Regions from separate parts of the Homo sapiens genome. Here region 1 is linked to region 2. The links are contacts of gene promoters, found by promoter capture Hi-C in human tissues and cell types (Jung and others, 2019). All regions are on one chromosome and are shown on one strand. Each heading gives the region's core, a stretch centred on a gene start or on the middle of the fragment in contact. The rest is flanking DNA. Distances are from core to core; before and after follow the strand shown. Region 1 overlaps NUP98 (nucleoporin 98 and 96 precursor). Region 2 holds the start of ART5 (ADP-ribosyltransferase 5).

The links. Contacts are between HindIII fragments. The study calls those that stand out against the background at their distance.
Region 1: a contact is called between a fragment that was not itself captured here and the fragment with the promoter of ART5 in region 2, in 1 of the 25 tissues and cell types used here (mesendoderm cells).

Annotation. Positions count from the first base shown.
Region 1 is chr11:3,684,554-3,689,414 of GRCh38, reverse strand. NUP98 (nucleoporin 98 and 96 precursor) reads left to right here. Exons shown (of 33, transcript NM_016320.5): 29 at 3,221-3,442. Among named protein-coding and RNA genes, the nearest start is that of CHRNA10, 16 kb to the right of the region's middle. The HindIII fragment of the contact is 6,430 bases long and covers 1-4,861 here.
Region 2 is chr11:3,638,389-3,643,735 of GRCh38, reverse strand. It overlaps ART5 (ADP-ribosyltransferase 5), which reads left to right and starts at 1,744. Exons shown (of 4, transcript NM_053017.5): 1 at 1,744-1,930; 2 at 3,365-4,094; 3 at 4,701-4,733; 4 at 4,943-5,224. The coding sequence starts at 1,874. The coding sequence ends at 4,998. RefSeq lists a silencer at 1,135-1,184 and an enhancer at 1,324-2,037. The HindIII fragment of the contact is 5,679 bases long and covers 1-3,096 here.

The DNA.
Region 1 (4,861 bases), core at 1,821-4,320, 44 kb before region 2:
GCTGGGACTAGAGGCACCCACCACCACGCCCAGCTAATTTTTTTGTATTTTTAGTAGAGACAGGGTTTCACCGTGTTAGCCAAGATGGTCTCGATCTCCTGACCTCGTGATCTGCCCACCTCAGCCTCCCAAAGTGCTGGGATTACAGGCGCGAGCCACTGCACCTAGCCTTGTTTTGTTTTTAGACAGGGTTTTGCTCTGTCACCCGGGCTGGTGTGCAGTGGAATGATCATGGCTCATTGCAGTCTCAACCACCCGGGTTCAGGCGATCCTTTCACCTCAGCCTCCTGAGTAGCTGAGCGCTGCAGGAGTGCACCACCATACTCAGCTAATTCTTGTATTTTTTGTAGACAAGATTTTGCCACATTGCCCAGGCTGTTCTCAAGCTCCTGAGCTCAAGTGATCCACTTGCGCTGGCCTCCTAAAGTACTGGGATTACAGGTGTCAGCCACTGCACGCAGCAGAGAAGTCTTCTTACATTACCTTAGAAATACTTACAGTTTTTGTTTTTTTTTTCTCTAGTCACACAAATAGCTCATCTCATTTCAAATCTTCAAGGTGATTTCTTATAAATATATATATATATATATATATGTATATTTAAATACATATATATATTTTCGAGACAGTCTCTCTCTGTCGCCCAGTCTAGAGTGCAGTGGCGTGATCTTGCCTCACTGCAACCTCTGCCTTCCAGGTTCAAGCGATTCTCCTGCCTCAGCCTCCTGAGTAGCTGGGGTTACAGGCATGCGCCACAAAGCCCAGCTAATTTTTGTATTTTTAGTAGAAATGGGGTTTTGCCACGTTGGCCAGGCTGGTCTCGAACTCCTGACCTCAAGTAATCCTCCTGCCTCGGCCTCCCAAAGTGCTGGGATTATAGGTGTGAGCCACTGTGCCTGGCCAGTATTTAACTATATTAATTATATAGAATGTAGCTTTTTATTGTAGTAAAATGTAACTAAAATTTACTGGTTTTTATTTATTTATTTTATTATTATTATTATTTTTTGAGATGGAGTCTCGCTCTGTCGCCCAGGCTGGAGTGCAGTGGCGCGAACTAGGCTCACTGCAAGCTCTGCCTCCTGGGTTCACACCATTCTCCTGCCTCAGCTTCCCGAGTAGCTGGGACTACAGGCACCCACCACCACGCCCGGCTAATTTTTAGTAGAGACGGGGTTTCACCATGGTTTCACCATGTTAGCCAGGATGGTCTGGATCTCCTGACCTCGTGATCCGCTCACCTCAGCCTCCCAGAGTGCTGGGATTACAGGCGTGAGCCACCGTGCCCGGCCAAATTTACTGTTTTAACCATTTTAAGCATACTGTTCAGTGGCATTAAGTCCATTCACATTGCTATACAATCATCACCACCCTCTCCAGAACTTTTTCATCTTCCCATACTGGAAATTCTCATTGTTTCATTTGCATTTCCCTAATGTCTAATGATGTTGAGCACTTTGTCATGTGCTTATTTACCATCTGTACATCTTTGCTAAAATGTCTATTACAGGCATGAGTCACTGCACCCAGCCTTGTTTTGTTAGCCAAGATAGTCTCGATCTCCTGACCTCGTGATCCACCCGCCTTGGCTTCCCAAAGTGCTGGGATTACAGGCGTGAGCCACCGCACCCGGCCTAAAGTCACAAAATTTATTAGCATCAAGTTATTAATAACATTTCCTTATTAACCATTTTAAATATCTGTAGGATCTTTAACAACGTCTCTTTCTTTTTGATACTGGTCATTTGTGTTCAATAATTGCGTCCTCTTTTTTTCTTGGTTGGTGTACCTAGAGTTTAGCAATCATATTGACCTTTTCAAAGAACCACCTTCTGGCCTCATTAGTTGTGTCTATTGTTTATCCAGCTCATAATGGATTACAAACCTAAATTTCAACTTAACTATAAACCTTCTAGAAGAAAACAAAGCAGAAAATTTTTGCAACTGTAGGTTAGGCAGAAGATTTCTTAGGTGGACACTAAATAACACAATTCATAAGAGAAAAAAATTGGTAAATTGGACTTCAACAAAATTTCAAAACTACTGCTCATAGAAAGACTGTTAAGAGAATGAAAAGGTAAACCATAGATTGGGAGAAAATACTTGCAATTCGTAGATCTGATAGAGAACTTGTATCCAGGAATACATCAAGAACTCTGAAAATTCAGTAATAAGAAAACAGGCCAGGTATGGTGCGTCATGCCTATAATCCCAGCAGTTTGTGACGCTGAAGTGGGACGATCACTTGAACCCAGGAGCTCAAGACCAACCTGGGCAATATAATGAGACCCCATCTCTACAAAAATAAATTTCTTAAATTGGGTGGGCATGGTGGCATGCATCTGTAGTCCCAGCTACTTAGGAGGCTGAAGTGAGAGGATCGCATGAGCCCAGGAGGTTGAGGTTACAATTGAGTCATCATTATTATTATTATTTTGAGTTGGAGTCTCACCCTGTCAGAGTGCAGTGGTATGATCTCACCTCACCACAACCTCCGCCTCCTGGGTTCCAGCAGTTCTTGTGCCACAGCCTCCTGAGTAGCCGGGAATACAGGCATGCACTACCACACCTGGCTAATTTTTGTATTTTTAGTAGAGGCAAGAGTTTCACCATCTTGGCCAGGCTGGTCTCAAACTCTCCTGACCTCAAGTGATCCGCCCACCTCAGCCTTCCAATGTGTTGGGATTACAGGCGTGAGCCACCGCGCCTTGCTCTATTTATTTTCTTGATCGTGATGGTGGTTTTACAGGTGTCTACATATGTTAAAGCTCATTAAAATTGTGTACTCTAGATACGTGCAGTTTTAAATATGTCAGAGAAAGAAAGAAAAGGATACTTCAAAATACCAGAAATGGGCAACAGAGCGAGACTCTGTCTCAAAAAAAAGAAAAAAGTAATGACATTATAATGAAGGAATGGAAGGGTGAGAACTGTGAAGACTCCCTGTATCAGGATGGTAAAATACATACGCCAAACCATTACCAGCAAACCTGTTAGATCACACAACCTTAGAAGAGAAGGTGCCTTGTTTCTTTGTAGGATCTAAAGTCTGGCTGAACCCAGAGATAGATTGATAAAACATAGGCTCAGAGGGAGAGAAGGCCTATAATGCTTTCACTCTCAGGTTCTTTTATTGTCTTAGACATAAGCAGAACAGTTGACATATCAGTCCAGGCCGTCTCCTGGCTGTGTATGTTGACTCTCAACACGTTCTTTGCAGACATTATGATCTCAACCAGCTGCTGGAGCCTCGAAGCATAACAGCAGATCCTTTGGACTACCGCCTAAGCTGGCACTTGTGGGAAGTGCTGAGGGCTCTTAACTACACCCATCTCTCAGCGCAGTGTGAAGGTGTGCTACAGGCCAGTTACGCTGGCCAGCTTGAAAGTGAGGGGCTCTGGGAGTGGGCCATCTTTGTCCTCCTGCACATTGACAACTCAGGGTGAGTGAGAAGCCGTTGAACCCACTGGGTACATCTAGCACTACAGGGCAATTCCAAAGGAATCAGTCTTTCAGGGTTCAGTTTAGCAAGTAATTGTGTAGAATGTGTGTTAGATCCAGCGTTGTGATAAACCTCAAGATAGTTAAACCCTTAGCCTAGACTGTTTCTGTATTCATGTAAACCAGTTAAAACTGAGACTTCCTTTGATTAAGTGCCAAATTATAATATTTATCACAAAGTCTCTCAGCAGTCTGAGAAAAAAAGATCTCTGTGAACTGCATTGATCAGAGAAATTCTTCATAGAGGTAAGAGTCGAAGAACCTGTAAAATTGGAATAGGAAATAATGAAGTGGAAATGAGAGAATATGCCCAGATGGGACAATAGCATTATGCCTGGGCCAAAAAACTAGTCATTTAATTTCAGATCAGAACTATTCTCCTCATAGTGGGCTCTTTTCTGAATCCCAGATTCAGGTGAATGTGGCATGTTTAGGAATTACACAGAAATAGTGCTGTCTGAGCTGCCTCAGTGACTCCACGGCAGGGAAGTAATGGGTTAGCAAAAAGGTCCCTGCTTTTTCTGTGTCCACTGGCTTGCTTTTTCTCTGGTCATCCCTTGTCACCGACCCATTCCTTAAGCTTGATAGTATTGTATTTATTAACACAGCCTTGTGCTTAGGTATATGTGTCTTGATTCTCTGTCCTTAAAGAGAACTGGAGAAATGCCTTTTCACTGCGGTTTGAACAAGATAAGGCCGGAGATTTTTGTTAATGATAGCAGTATGGTATTTCAGTAATTACACAAAATGAACATTTATGTAGTACTTGAAGTGCTTTTACACATGTTTATATTGTATACCATATATATTAACTGTTTTATGTTCATTATGACCTGTGAGATAGACACTGTTATTATCTCTGTTTTACAGGTCAGTAACCCAAGACACAGAGCTTAACTTTTGTCCAAGGTCACACAGCTAGTAAATGGCAGAGTGAGGTTTCCAACTTTCGTCCAGAGTCTGTGCTCTTATCATTATGCTGCACTGTTGTGTTGCATGGTATGGAAGGAAATAGGGTCTAAATTCTAGATCTACCACGTACTCACTTTGACCTAGGGTAAAGCTTACTTTTGACTTTGGATAAAGATACTCTCTTAACTCTCTAAGCCTAAGCCTTTTTTTTTTTTTTTTTTTTTTTTTTTTTTTTGGCCTGTGAAAGCATAACATTAGTTTCTATTTAAAGGTGATTGTGAAATTAAAAAGAGTAAAAGTATAAAGCATCTAGCATAGTCTTATTAAGACTTAAGCAATTTCTCTTTCTTTAAGCAGTTTCTCTTTCTTCTTCCCCTTTAACAGGGAATGAAATGACCCCAGGCTATTTTTTTAAGTTTATTTAAACACAGTCATAAAGGATTTCACA
Region 2 (5,347 bases), core at 495-2,994:
CTTTTCAAGCAACTGCAAACACTCAACTTCCTCCAGAGAGTGGGCAGGCAGGATATATAGGCAAATGCTGTTTTTCACCATGATGGGAAACGGTAGGATGATTCCTTATTTTAGAATCTGGGAGGGCTTTGGGATGGCTAGACTCATAGAAGGGGGCAAAAGAACTTGTCCTGGAGCTGTTTTTCTTTCTTTCTTTCTTTTTTCTTTTTTTTTTTTTTTGAGATGGAGTTTCGCCCTTTTGCCCAGGCTGGAGTGCAGTGGCTCCATCTCAGCTCACTGCAATCTCCACCTTCCGGTTTCAGGCGATTCTCCTGCCTCAGCCACCCAAGTAGCTGGGATTACAGGCCCCTGCCACCACGCCCGGCTAATCTTTGTTGGCCAGGCTGGTCCCGAACTCCTGACCTCGTGATCCTCCCACTTCAGCCTCCCAAAGTGCTGGGATTACAGGCGGGAGCCACTGCGCCCTGCCCTGGAGCTGTTTTTCTAACAAGCACTCAGAAGCACCTCCCTCCCCACCCTCCTCCAAGCCTGGACCCACCGTATGTCTTCCCGTTTGGTCTACAGAAAGGATTCTGGGAGATAGCAGGATTCTAGGTGGAGGAAACTTTTTATTTGGCTGACACTCTGAGGGGATGGGGGGACAGGGATGGGGAAAATTAATGAGCCAGACCAGGATGGATTCCTTTGGGTAGCTCTAATCTTTCGTGCCCACCTCAGCCCCAGCAGGCAGCATTTCTCAAATCCTAGCTTTCGGCGACCCTCCGGCCGCTGGGGGAAGGAGGGGTGACAACCCCACCTCCTCCTGGCTCTGGCTGCTAGGAAGCTCTTCCCTGAGTTACCAATTCCTCCGCTGGCCCCTTCTCCCATGACCTCTGACGGGGCATCCAAAACTCAGAGCCAGGTTATTTATAGATAAGCCCAGAGGAGGTGGGGGAAAGGCCAGTGTTTACAAACATGGGTCACCTGAGTCTGAGCGGCCACGAGAGCGGTCTGGGGGAGGGGCGAGACCGGACCCTGTGGATCTGCGACCAAGGGCTCTGTCTCTGGCCCAACCCCACTGAAGGCGAATGGGGAGAGGGCCCAGAGCAGGCAGGGAGTGGGCGCTGCTCAGATGCTGGAGCACGTGGCCCAGGGTGTGGGCCAAATGCAAACTGTATGCAAATCGCAGTGCTCCGGGGGCGACCTCTCGGCCGGCGGGACCCCCGCGGGGCCCCTGGCCTGGTGGGCCGGGGACCAGGGGCCGACCGGGTCAGGGCCCGCCTGAGGGAGAGGCCGAGTCTCACAAGTTTCCTCCCCATCACTCACAGCCAAAGAGGGTCCCGCAGAAAGACCCCGCAGGCCTTGAGAAAGGGAATTGCTCCTCAGTCCCTGCCCTGGCGCGCCCGCTCCCGGCCCCGCGTGCGGCGCTGGGAAAGGGGTGTCGGGTTACCAGCGCGGGGGCTACAGTTAGCCTCGAGAACCTTTGCTTTCAGCCGGACTCCGGACTCCTCCGGGGACAGCGCAGCGCCCGCCAGAGCCCTCGGCGCTCCCTCCCGCTGGCGGCTTCCGCAGCCTTCAAGTGGGTCCTCCGCCCCCGGCCCTCCCCTCTCAGGCGGAGCCAAACTGCGGCCCCGCCTTTACAGTCTCGGAAAGGTCCCCAGACTGGAGGCTCTGAGGAAGGGGTGTGGGGAGTCGGGGGCGGAGACTTGGGGCGGGGGGCGGGCAATAAACTCCCAGGCCCCGCCCACGCCCCGCCGGGGCCCTAATCCTGGACCCGGGATCCCGTGCGCCTGGAGACAGGGTCCAGATCTGCCTCCAGCCCCTCGAAACCAGGACTCCAGCACCTCTGGTCCCGCCCTCACCCGGACCCCTGGCCCTCACGTCTCCTCCAGGGATGGCGCTGGCGGCTTTGATGATCGCCCTCGGCAGCCTCGGCCTCCACACCTGGCAGGTAACTCCAGGAACCATCTCCTAGCCCCAAGGGGGACATTAAGGGACAGACCCTGAGGAAGTGGACCCGGGGCTGACTCCTCACATCCCTCTCCCAGGGACTCTTCCCTAGGATTCCACTCTTAACTCTCTTCCTCTCAGGAACCTCCATCTCTGCAGGGAGCCCCAAGTTCCCATTCTGTCTCCTAGAACCCCCATCTCCATCCCTCTCTGGATGCCTCCAACGTTCTCCTCCCCACCTCTCATCTCCCAGCGCAGGCACAGCCCGGCAAAGCCTCCTTGGGTTACCTGTGTGCTGCAGTCCTGGCAGCCCGTCCCAACCAAGGCTTGGCCTCCCCACCACCCCTACCCCAAATGTGGGTACAGAGCAGGGGAGGACTCAGGCGTCTCAGAGCTCACAGTGATTTGGTGTGGTGGCTGAGCACCTACCTGCAAGGGCTTCCTGCTGGATGAGAGGGAAAGAGAGCCCGAGGAGAATGGGGCTGGGGGTTAGGCAGCTGGACACTGGCTGTGTGTAATATTTGCACATCACCTGCCTGCCAGATCTTACAGCCGGAAAAGTGCTTGATAGTCATCTAGTCCCACCTCCCACCGACTGCAAGAACCTTTCTAATGACAGGATGACCCCTTTTAGGTTGTACAGAAGTAATGCTCTTTATGCTGTCTTCATAATAACTGTGAGGTTGGAAGTATCCTCAAGTCCAGAAAAGTTATGACACTTGCCCAAGGCCTCACAGCTAATAGGTGGTAAAGTCAAGATTTCAGCCTGCGCGCGGTGGCTCACTCCTGTAATCCCAGCACTTTGGGAGGCTGAGGCTGGTGGATCACTTGAGGTCAGGAGTTCGAGACCAGCCTGACCAACATGGTGAAACCCTGTCTCTACTAAAAATACAAAAAATTAGCTGGGCGTGGTATTGCGCACCTGTAATCCTAGCTACTTGGGAGGCTGAGAGAGGAGAATTGCTTGAACCCGGGAGGCAGAGGTTGCAGTGAGCCAAGATCGTGCCATTGTACTCCGGCCTGGGCAACAGAGCGAGACTTCGTCTCAAAGAAACAAACACAAAAACAAATTAGCCAGGCATGGTGGCATGCACAGGTAATCCCAGTTAGTTGGGAGGCTGAGGTGGGAGAATCACTCCAACCTGGGAGGTGGCGCTTGCAGTGAGCCGAGATCTCACCACTGCACTCCAGCCTGGGCAACAGAGCAAGACTCCATCAAAAAAAAAAAAAAAAAAAAAAGATTTCAGTCCATGTCTGACTGACTCCAGTGCCTGTGTTATTTAAGCCTCTTATTGGGCCCTTGCCAAATTGCATATACCTGATATTTAGGGATAGAAATGAGATTCTGTGTTTCTGGATGGGTTTGCCCCCAGGACCCATGTCCAGTGCTCTGAACTTATGCTCTTTTCGGTGTGGCACCTCTTTTGCTCCACAGGCCCAGGCTGTTCCCATCCTGCCCCTGGGCCTGGCTCCAGACACCTTTGACGATACCTATGTGGGTTGTGCAGAGGAGATGGAGGAGAAGGCAGCCCCCCTGCTAAAGGAGGAAATGGCCCACCATGCCCTGCTGCGGGAATCCTGGGAGGCAGCCCAGGAGACCTGGGAGGACAAGCGTCGAGGGCTTACCTTGCCCCCTGGCTTCAAAGCCCAGAATGGAATAGCCATTATGGTCTACACCAACTCATCGAACACCTTGTACTGGGAGTTGAATCAGGCCGTGCGGACGGGCGGAGGCTCCCGGGAGCTCTACATGAGGCACTTTCCCTTCAAGGCCCTGCATTTCTACCTGATCCGGGCCCTGCAGCTGCTGCGAGGCAGTGGGGGCTGCAGCAGGGGACCTGGGGAGGTGGTGTTCCGAGGTGTGGGCAGCCTTCGCTTTGAACCCAAGAGGCTGGGAGACTCTGTCCGCTTGGGCCAGTTTGCCTCCAGCTCCCTGGATAAGGCAGTGGCCCACAGATTTGGTAATGCCACCCTCTTCTCTCTAACAACTTGCTTTGGGGCCCCTATACAGGCCTTCTCTGTCTTTCCCAAGGAGCGCGAGGTGCTGATTCCCCCCCATGAAGTCTTTTTGGTTACCAGATTCTCTCAGGATGGAGCCCAGAGCTTGGTGACTCTCTGGAGCTATAATCAGACCTGTAGCCATTTTAACTGCGCCTATCTGGGTGGTAAGCTGTGCATGGGGGAAGCAGGACTGGCAGTGTGGGTGAAATAAGCCAGGATGTCCTTACACAATAATCCCCGGGGCCTTCGGGAGACCCACTTGGTTAAAGGGGAAATGAGGGCTGGAAGTCAGCTGGAGTTGCTGTCCTCTGTGACTCAGGTTTTTTGGGGTCCTATAAGTGTTTTCTAGATTCGTGAACATTCTTAGATGATTCTATATGTCCTCAAAAGGGTCCATCTGCTACATGGTCTAATAGACCAAAAGAACCTGGTTAAGGAGATTAGCAAGCAGCAGAAAGAGCCAAGGGGACTGCTTCAGGTCTCAGGGGGGCCCTGGGCTCGATGGGGCTGACAGGGCACGTATGTGCCATTCCCAAGTGCTAAGGCAGGGAGAGATGGAAGAGTGACTGGGTCTTGGGTGGGAAGAGGGATGGAAAGGCAATCTGGAAAGAGTTCCTGGAGGACGGAGGAGGAAGGGAAATCAGAAGTTTCCCTTTAGGTGAAGGGAAAGATAGATTGAGAAGGGAAATGGCCCTGCCAGGGCCTGGTGGGCCAGGCAGTTTGGGTGCGAGTCTGTCCACGCGGAGGCCTCACCCTGCTGTCTGTTGCAGGGGAGAAGAGGCGGGGCTGTGTGTCTGCGCCAGGTGAGTTGCCCTTCCATCCTCCTTCAGCTGCTTTGACTCCCCCTCACCCTGCTGACCCCTTCCTCCTCTTTTCCCTTCAGCAGGGGTGCAGCTAGGGTCACAATCTGAGGGGGCCTCCTCTCTGCCCCCCTGGAAGACTCTGCTCTTGGCCCCTGGAGAGTTCCAGCTCTCAGGGGTTGGGCCCTGAAAGTCCAACATCTGCCACTTAGGAGCCCTGGGAACGGGTGACCTTCATATGACGAAGAGGCACCTCCAGCAGCCTTGAGAAGCAAGAACATGGTTCCGGACCCAGCCCTAGCAGCCTTCTCCCCAACCAGGATGTTGGCCTGGGGAGGCCACAGCAGGGCTGAGGGAACTCTGCTATGTGATGGGGACTTCCTGGGACAAGCAAGGAAAGTACTGAGGCAGCCACTTGATTGAACGGTGTTGCAATGTGGAGACATGGAGTTTTATTGAGGTAGCTACGTGATTAAATGGTATTGCAGTGTGGAGACATGGAATTTTATGATTGGTTTATTCCATGAGACTAGACCTTCTGCCCCGCTGTGGCCTTGCTGGGCTGAGGGACTGACTGAGGGACTAAAAAAAAAAACTTCTTGGGGCCAGGAGCAGGT